2 separate regions of the Homo sapiens genome follow, and region 2 is linked to region 1. The links are contacts of gene promoters, found by promoter capture Hi-C in blood cells and fetal thymus (Javierre and others, 2016). All regions are on one chromosome and are shown on one strand. Each heading gives the region's core, a stretch centred on a gene start or on the middle of the fragment in contact. The rest is flanking DNA. Distances are from core to core; before and after follow the strand shown. Region 1 holds the start of PSIP1 (PC4 and SRSF1 interacting protein 1). Region 2 overlaps CNTLN (centlein).

The links. Contacts are between HindIII fragments. The CHiCAGO score rates a contact against its expected background, and 5 or more counts as called.
Region 2: a fragment that was not itself captured here is called in contact with the fragment with the promoter of PSIP1 in region 1 in 1 of 17 cell types (monocytes); the score reaches 6.7 in monocytes.

Annotation. Positions count from the first base shown.
Region 1 is chr9:15,509,345-15,514,146 of GRCh38, forward strand. It overlaps PSIP1 (PC4 and SRSF1 interacting protein 1), which reads right to left and starts at 1,626. Exons shown (of 16, transcript NM_033222.5): 1 at 1,473-1,626; 2 at 773-985. The coding sequence starts at 844. RefSeq lists enhancers at 739-1,692, 1,693-2,645, 3,298-3,916 and silencers at 752-951, 1,052-1,101, 1,232-1,291, 1,302-1,511, 1,532-1,611. The HindIII fragment of the contact is 3,241 bases long and covers 1-2,867 here.
Region 2 is chr9:17,140,633-17,145,671 of GRCh38, forward strand. CNTLN (centlein) reads left to right here. Exons shown (of 26, transcript NM_017738.4): 2 at 2,656-2,744. Among named protein-coding and RNA genes, the nearest start is that of CNTLN, 8.1 kb to the left of the region's middle. The HindIII fragment of the contact is 7,594 bases long and covers 1-5,039 here.

The sequences.
Region 1 (4,802 bases), core at 376-2,875:
CCTTTTTCTAAAAATGGAGCGTAGATCTTTAAACAGTCTCAATTCCTCAATGTCACAAAACATCCTGGGTCCTTAATCATTTCTCTGTACCACTAGATGTGAACTGAGGAATCTGGTCCACACCTCCTTTTTGCCTATTGGAAACAAAAAGGTAAAACAACTTCTTCAAGGTCATAAACATCTCAAATAAAAAAGGAGAAATGAATTTTCTGGCCCTTCCTCGGTACTAAACTACTGTAATACTTTCAAGAATATCCAGTCCTGAATCTGTATTAAACAAGCAAATCCAGAAGGCCTCATCAAGTACAAGGTATTTTTTTTAAAACCCTGTAAATCCAATTTAATCACATACGCACTTCTCTGACATCCAAGTGTTTGTGTGTAATCTGCACAAATTCCATTGATATTTTGTACTTGATCCAAAACTATGGAAATGTCAATGTTTCACTAATTTTTAAACAAAAATTCACTCTTCATTATTTCACCTACAATGGAATATTAACTAGCAACGCATTTAAATATTTCCTAGGAAGAAAATCTGTCCAAGTCTGCCAATAAACCATAGGGAAATACACAGGTATGTAGAAACGTCTGGATTTTCATAATTACACGGGAGATTATTGGGCAAAAAACTAAAATGAAAGGTCAGGTTACAAATGAGACTAAAGCGAGGGAGAGAAAGGACAGAAGAAAAAATAAAGAGACACGGTGGGCAGCAGGCCTCTGGAGAGGAGGGTAGCACTGCTAAGCGCGAGGGCTACAAATCACTTACTCGAGCTGGCCAATGGGGATAACCTTTCATCTTGGCGAAGATGAGGTCTCCAGGTTTGAAATCGCGAGTCATGTTTCGGGGGCGAGACCGGGGGTCCGAAGCCCGGGAGGCGGCGAGGAGATGCGGCGGCGCGGGGATGCGGGCGGCGGACGCGGGCCCAGCTACCGGGCCCGCGGGCGGGGGAGGATGCCTCGGGGCGTCCCGACGCGCCTGCTAGGGAGAGCACCGAGGGCGGTTAAAGCGAAGAACCCCGAAGGGAGGGGCCGCAAGGGGAGGGGGAGGGGAACCGGCGGGTGGGGGTGGGAGAGCGAGGGGACGGCCGCCTCCCGCTCCTCCCCCGCCAGTGCGCTGCCTCCGCGCTGGAGCAGGTCCTCCACCCCGCCACCGAAGAGACGCCACCACCTGAAGCAGGGATGCTGCCCGGCCAGAAATCGCCCGTCTGCCCGCCCCATCTTTCTCCGGGCTTTTTCCACCGAGCTTAAGCCCCAAAAGGGAGGGGGTGCATGGGAGAGAAAAAGGCAGGGATTCCGAGAAGCGAGCGGCCCCCTTCCGCCCACGCAAGGCCTCCCCCGCAACCTGCTGCCCAGCGGCTGCAGCCTCGGCCCCCTCGGCTCCCGGGCGGGCCGCGTCCACTTCCCCGCTACAGCCAGGAGCGACGCCACCGAGGGGGGGGCGGGGCGAGTCCCCGTCGCCCGCTCACCTGCCGGGGCCGCGGGCGCCGACGCTGCGGTTGCTGGCCGGTCGCCTCTACCCGCGTCCACGCAAGCCACCTGCGCCACCAGCTGCCGCAGAGGCGTCTCAACGGCTCGGAATCGCAACCGCGCCGCCGCTGCCGCCGCCGTAGCTGCGCTGCTCCCGCGCGGCTCCCGCTCGGCGCCCGCTAGCACTGGGGCGCGACCAACTGTTTACCGAGAGAGGGGGGATGTTGCAGCACCCGGCGAAGCTGTGTGGCTCCGAAGCGGATTTTCTGGAAACCCTACGTCCCCAAGTTCGCTTTCATGTAACAGGTGCATGCAGATGGAGAGGAAGACGCAAGCGAAGAAGAAAGGACTGGGCGAAAATAGCTCGGCCTGCCGCAAGTTCCCCCTGCGGTTTGCGGAGTGGTCGGGCCCGGCCCGCCCCTGCTGGCTTCTCTGCGTGTGTGTATTTGTATGTGTACTGTATGTAAAAGGCGGGGAGGGAGGAAATGATTGTTGTGGACGCGGTTTTGGGGGCGGGTATCCGGGCCTCTCTCCCTTGGCTGCGTGTTAGGGAGAAAGTGGCAGTAAAGATTCATGTTCTTGTATCGTTTCCAGGGTGGGGAGGTTTGAATGCTGCTTTTGCGCGGTTTGCATCATCCAAAAAAGAGGAGCTGTACGAAAACCCTAAGATGAAATTGGAGCATGCGGCGGTTGCAGGGTGTGCTGCATCTAGGCCTCTTGCACCTCGCTGAATGGGCCTCGTAGTCTCCTTTTCCTTGAAATTGTAGTATGAGAGAGCCCTATTTCATTTCTTTTGCATTTGCATCACCAAGAACTATTAAGAAAAATGCAACCCTACTGAATGCAAAATGCGAAGGGTAGAAAACAATGACAGGAAAACAGAAACCTTTTAGATAGGATGTGAGTTTGGGCCCTAACTAAATTTTAGCTGCATCTAAATTTTATTTCCCTAGTAGAATAGGAGCTGGTAGGTGGTACAATGTGTAAGTGTTACTAAACCTCAAATATTTTCTCTCTTAAAATGCTCTTCAAGGGATTTTAAAGGTTAATTTTTTGATCCTTTAGAGAGGCTGAAAATATTTTTAAAAAGAATGTTAAGACATATAAAAATAAGAATAATAAGACATATATTAGCACCTAGATAATACTGTTTTAAATACGGGACTCAACTGGAAATGAATTAGGAAATTTTTTTTGAATTGGTAAAAATTGAGAATTTTTTGAAAGCGATACAGCATGTCTTTAAAAAGGAATGAAAGAAGACAGTCCCAAAGTAAAATGTCCTGTAAGGAGTTTCGAGAAACTAAGTATACCTGGGCAATATGCAGAGAGTTCCAAGTGGAGCAAAAAGAGAAATTGGCAGAGGAGAAGGAAGGGTTGGTGAAATGTCTTGAAGCTTCTCATTCTGAATATGAATTTAATGTGTGTAGTAGGAAGCTACTATAGGTTGCTCAGCAAGAAGGGGGTAAAAATGATTATTTAACCAGTTCTTGATGTTTCAAGGTAGATGTTAGTAGAAAGAGGCTGGGGGTAACTGGAGTACTCATGAAATGACGCATTTCTCAGTGAGAATGGTGACTAAGAAAAGGGAAGGAAGAGCACAACTAAGTAATTACACAAAGGAATGATTGTCAGGTGTTGGCTATAAATTATGCATAGGAAAAGGTGGAAAAAGATGTATTGAAGAAAAGCTCAAGATACAGAGTAAGAGAGACCAAAGCAGCATCCAGCAATCATTTTTTTGTGTGTATGCACTTTATTTGTTCTAAACCCTGTAAGGCCTTGCTACTTCAAGTGTGGTCCAAGGCCCAGCAGCAAGGGCTTTACCTGGGAGCTCAGGTAAAGCTCAGACCTTCCCCAGGCCTTCTAAATCATAATCTGCGTTTTAACAGGATCCCTAGGTGATTCTTACGCATATTCAAGTTTGAGAAACTGCTTTAGAGGATACCTCAGACTGTAAAAACTTCAAACTAAGAAAAACAGATATATAACAAGTTATAATTAACGTTAAAGATAACTTTTTATTAGTACTAATGGTAGGATTAACAGGTAAAGAGGGGGTAGTTAGTGTTAGAGGGGACCTCAGAAAAGAAATAAAAAAGGGAAAATGGAAAAGCATTGATGTTTTACTATTAGTATTTTCTGTTGTTTTTGTTGTTTTAAAAAAAGGAAGTACCATACTTAGCTCCTGCTGCCTTTAAGTTTTGTCCGCTTCAACCTGTGGTAGTTTGTGAACAACAGGAGATACCCTTTAAACAATAAAGGCAAAACAGGTGGTGGTTTAAGCTTCCAGAGAACAAAAGCCCAGGATCCCTGGGAGCAACAGTTCTGAATCTGCGAGGAAAGGGGGGGGGAGGGGAGGGGAGGGGAGGGCAGGGAACGGGGAAGGAAAGCTGGGCACATCCTAGCCACTTGGGAGAGCTTTTCTGTGCTCTTTTCCAGCTATGCTTGGTGCAGCCCTCTCCCATAGTCAGCCTTCTTAGTGGGGATACTTGAAAAAGTATACCAAAATGGAGATCAGAGGAGCAATGGGAAAGTTATAAGGAGAAAGAGTGTAATTTCCAAAACAACTGAAGCAAGGGGAGGGGGCAGGAAAATCCAAATGAGTTGAGGCAGGAACTTGGCCTACATTATCTCATTTAACCCAAGTGCCACTATCCCCATTTCACAGATGAGAAAATAAGCTCACAGAAGGTAAGCAGCTAGCTTGCCCAAGATCACACATCTAGTCCAGGGGCTGAGGCAACATTCTAGCCCCTCTGGCTACTTGCCCATGCCATTTTTGTGATCCCACATCGCCTCTAGGTGGGGCAGGGAGGCAGCAAGGCTGAAGGAGGAGTGGCTTATAATTAGAAAAGATGCTGGAAGGAAAAGCAGCCCAGTACTTACTCTTCCACCTTCCACCTTTGGGCTTGAAAGTATTCCCAGCTTCAAATTTCCTAACAACCTCCCTCCACACCATGCCATTCCCCAGCTTGTCCCCAGCACGAGACCATTCTGTTTAACTCCTTCTGGTCCTAAAAAACTCAACCCAAAAATCACCTCTGGAAAAGATGTGACCTAATCTTAGAGTAACATAGTTTCTTATTTACACTCTTTCCTACTAATCTGTAAACTGCTTAGAAGTAGGCACTATCTTATTCATCAGTGCAGGTACTCAATAAAAAAGCGCCGGACGCGGTGGCTCATGCCCGTAATCCCAGCACTCTGGGAGGCCAGGGCAGGTGGATCACGAGGTCAGGAGTTCAAGACCAGCCTGGCCAACATGGTGAAACCCCGTCTATACTAAAAATACAAAAATTAGCCGGGTGTGGTGGTGTGCGCCTGTT
Region 2 (5,039 bases), core at 218-2,717, 1.6 Mb after region 1:
GGTCTCACTATGTTGCCCAGGCCAGTCTCAAACTCCTGGGCTCAGATGATCCCCTCCCATCTTGGCCTCCCAAAGTGATTACAGATGTGACCCACTGTGCTCGCCCTAATGGTTATGTTAATTAGCTTGATTTAACCATTCTAAAATGTATACATAAAACATTATGTTGTATGCCATAAATATATGCAATTTTTATTTGTTGATTAAAAAATATTAAAAAACAAAAATTCCAGAAGAAGAAATGGGTAAATATATTTCTAATCTTGGAATAGAGAAGGCTTTTCTAACTGGTACATAAAATCCATAAGCCATAATTGAAAAGATGGATACATTTGAGTATGTAAAATTAATAACTTGCTTTTTCAAAAAAATCATCATAAATAAGCAGCAACAGACTGGGAAGAATATTTCTAACAATGGGTAGACACAAGTCTAATTTTAAGATTTCCTTTAAGTTTCCAACAGCACTTATATTTCATTGACAGAACTTAGTCATATAACCCATAAGGCAAGGGAGGTTGGTCTGTTACTTGGGCAGAATTGTTTCTGTAACTAAAAAGAGAGAATGGATGACGGAGACAGAAATTGAGATATCTGCCACACAAGTAAAACCAAATCACTAAACATACAGGATTATTAAATGAAATGTGCTGTGAAAAAAAATTGTAACTGGAAAAGGGGTTGCTAGAGACTTGGGGTTTTGGTGGCTGTGATAGTAGTCAGGGGAGAATTCACTTGAGATATTATTTAAGAAAAGGCTTGAATGAAGTGAGGGAATACTCTATGTGAAAGTGTGATGGATGATGCAGTATGTGCATTGGCCCTGGTTCAAGTAGAGCAAGTAGAGTAAGAAAGTCTGTGTGAACAAGGAGGAAAGTGACAGATGAGGTTGGGGAGGTGTATATGGGCCAGGCCATATGGAGTCTTGTAGCCTTGACACAGAGTTTGGATTAGTTTCCTAATTTAATGGAAACTCACTGGAGAGTTTTGAGTTGTAAGGCTATGAGACCATGATACATAGCTGGGCAAGAGACGGAATTGACTTGGACTAGGGCGATAGTGGTAGAAGTGGTGAGAGTGGTCAGAATTTGCCTATCATGTAGATAAGGACAGTAGGGTTTATTGATGATTTGGATATGAAGTATGAGGAGAAAAGAATAACCAAGATTGGCTGGGCACGGTGGCTCATGCCTGTAATCCCAGCACTTTGGGAGGCCGAGGCAGGTAGATCATGAGGTCAGGAGTTCGAGACCAGCCTGGCCAATATGGTGAAACCCTGTCTCTACTAAAAATACAAAAATTAGCTGGGTGTGGTGGTGCGTGCCTGTAGTTCCAGCTACTCAGGAGGCTGAGGCAGAAGAATCACTTGAACCTGGGAGGCAGAGGTTGCAGTGAGCCGAGATTGCGCCACTGCACTCCAGCCTGGGCGACAGAGCAAGACTCTGTCTCAGAAAAAAAAAAAAAAAAAAAAGAAGAATAAACAAGATTGACTCCTAAGTTTTAGATCAACCTAACCCTAACACCCGGCTCATAGGTGGGCCGCATGCAGCCCAGGATGGCTTTGAATGCGGCCTAACACAAATTCTTAAACTTTCTTAAAACATTATGAGATTTATTTTGCAATTTTTTTTAGCTCATTAACTATTGTTAGTGTTAGTGTATTTTATATATGGCCTAAGATAATAATTCTTCTTCCACTGTGGCCCAGGGAAGCCAAAAGATTGGACACCACTGTTTTAGATCTTTGAATAAATGAATAGATGGCAGTATCAATTTCTGGGAGGGAGAGGGGCAGATTTGTGAGAGGGTAAGGAACCAATAATTTTTTTTTGAACAAGTTAAATTTAAGATATCTATTAGATTTTCAAGTGGAATTATTGAATATGCAGTTGGAGATGTAAGTCTGGACCTAAGAGTAGAGGAAATGGCTCTAGATAGAAATGTGCGAGTCTCAGTGTAGAGTTGGTACTTAAAATCATGGGCCTGATATGAGGTCACCTAGGGCAGTGGTTCTCAACCCAGAGTGCACAGATTCACTCGAGGCACTTTTAAAACATACTGATGCTTGGCTCTAACCTAAGGCCAATTAATCAGAATCTCTAATTCATCCCTATTTTTTAAAAGCTCCTCAAAAGAGATACCTGTCAGCCAAGGTTAATAACAACTAACCTAGGTAATAAGGACTGAAACTACCCATTGTCCTTTGGATTTGGCAATATAGAGGACCTTGAATAATGATTTTAGCATAATGGTGGTTAGGAAAATCTTACTAGGAAGCATTATAGAGTGAATGGGAGATAGGAAACAGACATAGTAATTACAGGCAACTCTTTCAAGGAGTTTTGATAAAAGCGGAGCTGAAAATGGGGCAGCAGGGAGGGAAGTTTCCTTTTAGAGCAAGTTTAACTAGATATTTAGCATTTCAACAGTTGCATCCCAAAATATAGGTGATAGAAATAGTAAAAGTGAATATGGATTATCTGTGTAATAACTTTTTAAAATAAAGTTTTACCCCATTCCTTTAAAGAGAATCAGTTGATGTAGTTATACAACTAGGGATCAAGTAATTGTTTTTTCATTTTAAAATTTAATGTAGTATCTTATTTCACTACCACTACAAAGCAATGCATCTAAATTCTCTTTTATTTCTTTAAGGCTGATAAAGAATTTGTATGGTCTTTGTGGAAACGTCTCCAGGTTACAAACCCAGATCTCACACAAGTGGTCAGTTTGGTTGTGGAAAGGTGAGCTCTCAAATTATTTTTTCATGAGTATTTGGTGTGTTGAGTTTGTTTCTCTTCATTATTAAAGTTAGTACTTATCATTAATCTCCTAAAGAGATTCATTTAATTTCTGAATAAATGTGGAGCTAAAAATTAAATTGTTGGATTTATTATGAAGGGTGCCAGTTCACCAAGTACAGGTATGCCCTGTTCCTGTTCATATTCTGACATATTTGGAGAGTGTGTAGCTAAGAGATAAAACTATGTCTTAAATACTGTGTGTGTGTGTGTCTTGAGCTGTTACAGTTCAACCTTAAAAGTTGGCGAAGTCCCTGTTGTTTGACTTTTTACTCCATGGACTGCCTCTATAGGGAACTTACTAGACGTGACTCAGTTTTCCCCTTAGATAATTGCAGTGTGTAATTGAAAGCCGGGGATGACCTTGCCAGTGTAGAGTAAGTGTTCTGGAATAGGTTAAAGGATTTTACTTAGCACTCCATATTATCCTGTAGGAACTGCCCAGTCATTTAACTGTAGATTGTTGGGCCTCTCCTTGGTTATTAGAAACAGTGGAATGATGCTGGGTTCTCTCTATCAAACATTTGGTATACAGTATTCCCATGACACTTAGCACAGCAATGAAAACACTTGCTTTCTTAGTAAATGGATTTCATTATACTTTTTAAATGAGAAGCTAAGCATATGGATACCTTTTCCTTTTTTAAAAATTGGAATCATGATCCTAAAATCTGAATATCATTTTTTATTACTTGAATTATATTCACCCTTGTAGTCTCTAGTCCTGGGATCATTCCAGCGTTGTCTGAGATTTGACTTGTTAAAAATCTGTGATACATGCCTGAGTATGTCTAATTTTACCATCTTTGGTTATTATGAACACTTAAAATAGTATAATCAGTTTCTTCTCATGTTGCTTGTACGTCTAATTCATCAATCATTTTTTTCCTTCTGATGATCAGAATTAAGTCTTTTGTTGAAGTACCCTTGTTACTTCCTCAATCATTTTTGAGATGAAATGTGATCACTCTCAGACTCCCTCTGTTTTTTTAGTAGAATAAGCCTTCTAGAGAAGCCTTGGGACTTCAATTGTCATTTCCGTGATTCTTTATTCTCCTCTCCTTTTATTTGTTATTTTTTAAAACTTTCTAAACCTATCCATAATTTTTACTTTTCTCTTGGTTAAACAGAAGCAGATATTAAATTATTGTTAGGTCATTTTCCTCATTCTTTACAATGTCTGTTTTTCATATTTATAATATACAGAGTATATATTCATATAACATAAAATTTATAAATAAATGTACGTATGTATATTAGACGTAGGTGTTCAAAAGTCTTTTGTTGATAAGGTGTAATGAGAAATTTTGGAGATTACTGCTTTATAACTATGACTGTCAAAATTTAGTGTGCACAAGTTATACTTGGAGAATTTATTTATTTATTTTATTTTATTTTTTTTATTTTATTTTTTTTTTTGAGACGGAGTCTCGCTCTGTCGCCCAGGCCAGACTGCGGACTGCAGTGGCGCAATCTCGGCTCACTGCAAGCTCCGCTTCCCGGGTTCACGCCATTCTCCTGCCTCAGCCTCCCGAGTAGCTGGGACTACAGGCGCCCGCCACCGCGCCCGGCTAATTTTTTGTATTTTTAGTAGAGACGGGGTTTCACCTTGTTAGCCAGGATGGTCTCGATCTCCTGACCTCATGATCCACCCGCCTCGGCCTCCCAAAGTGCTGGGATTACAGGCGTGAGCCACCGCACCCGGCCTGGAGAATTTATTAAAATGAAGATCTCTGGGCCTTTTACCTGATCTACTGAATCTCTAGGGGGTGGGACCTAGATTTAAAATAAAGTTTAAAATAACATTTCCAGGTAATTCTGATGTCTGTAGATTACACTGTGAGATACTTTGGATTTTGAGTCTATTTTTGAAATTGGAAACGATAAGTGGCATTTATAATTTTATGACTATGTAAATACTTCCTAGAGAACCATGTAGTATGTTCACATCCATTGAGAAGTGAAAATGATATGCTGAATATTCAACCTATGTCTGTTAAAAAGAATATTCTAAATATCAAGGTCAAATAGATGATCTTTCTGTATAGTCCATTAGTTATCCAAATTATGATCCATTTAGGTCTGTTTAATTTTTAAACCGTGGACTTCCTGGACAGCATTTCCCCCCTGGAATTTCTCATTGCCCTTCTCTTTACTTTTTCTTATAAAGAATGTCTACGTCCTTTGTCAGACATTTGTATAACAGGCTGAGAACATTTTTCCTTTTCCTCTTTGGCT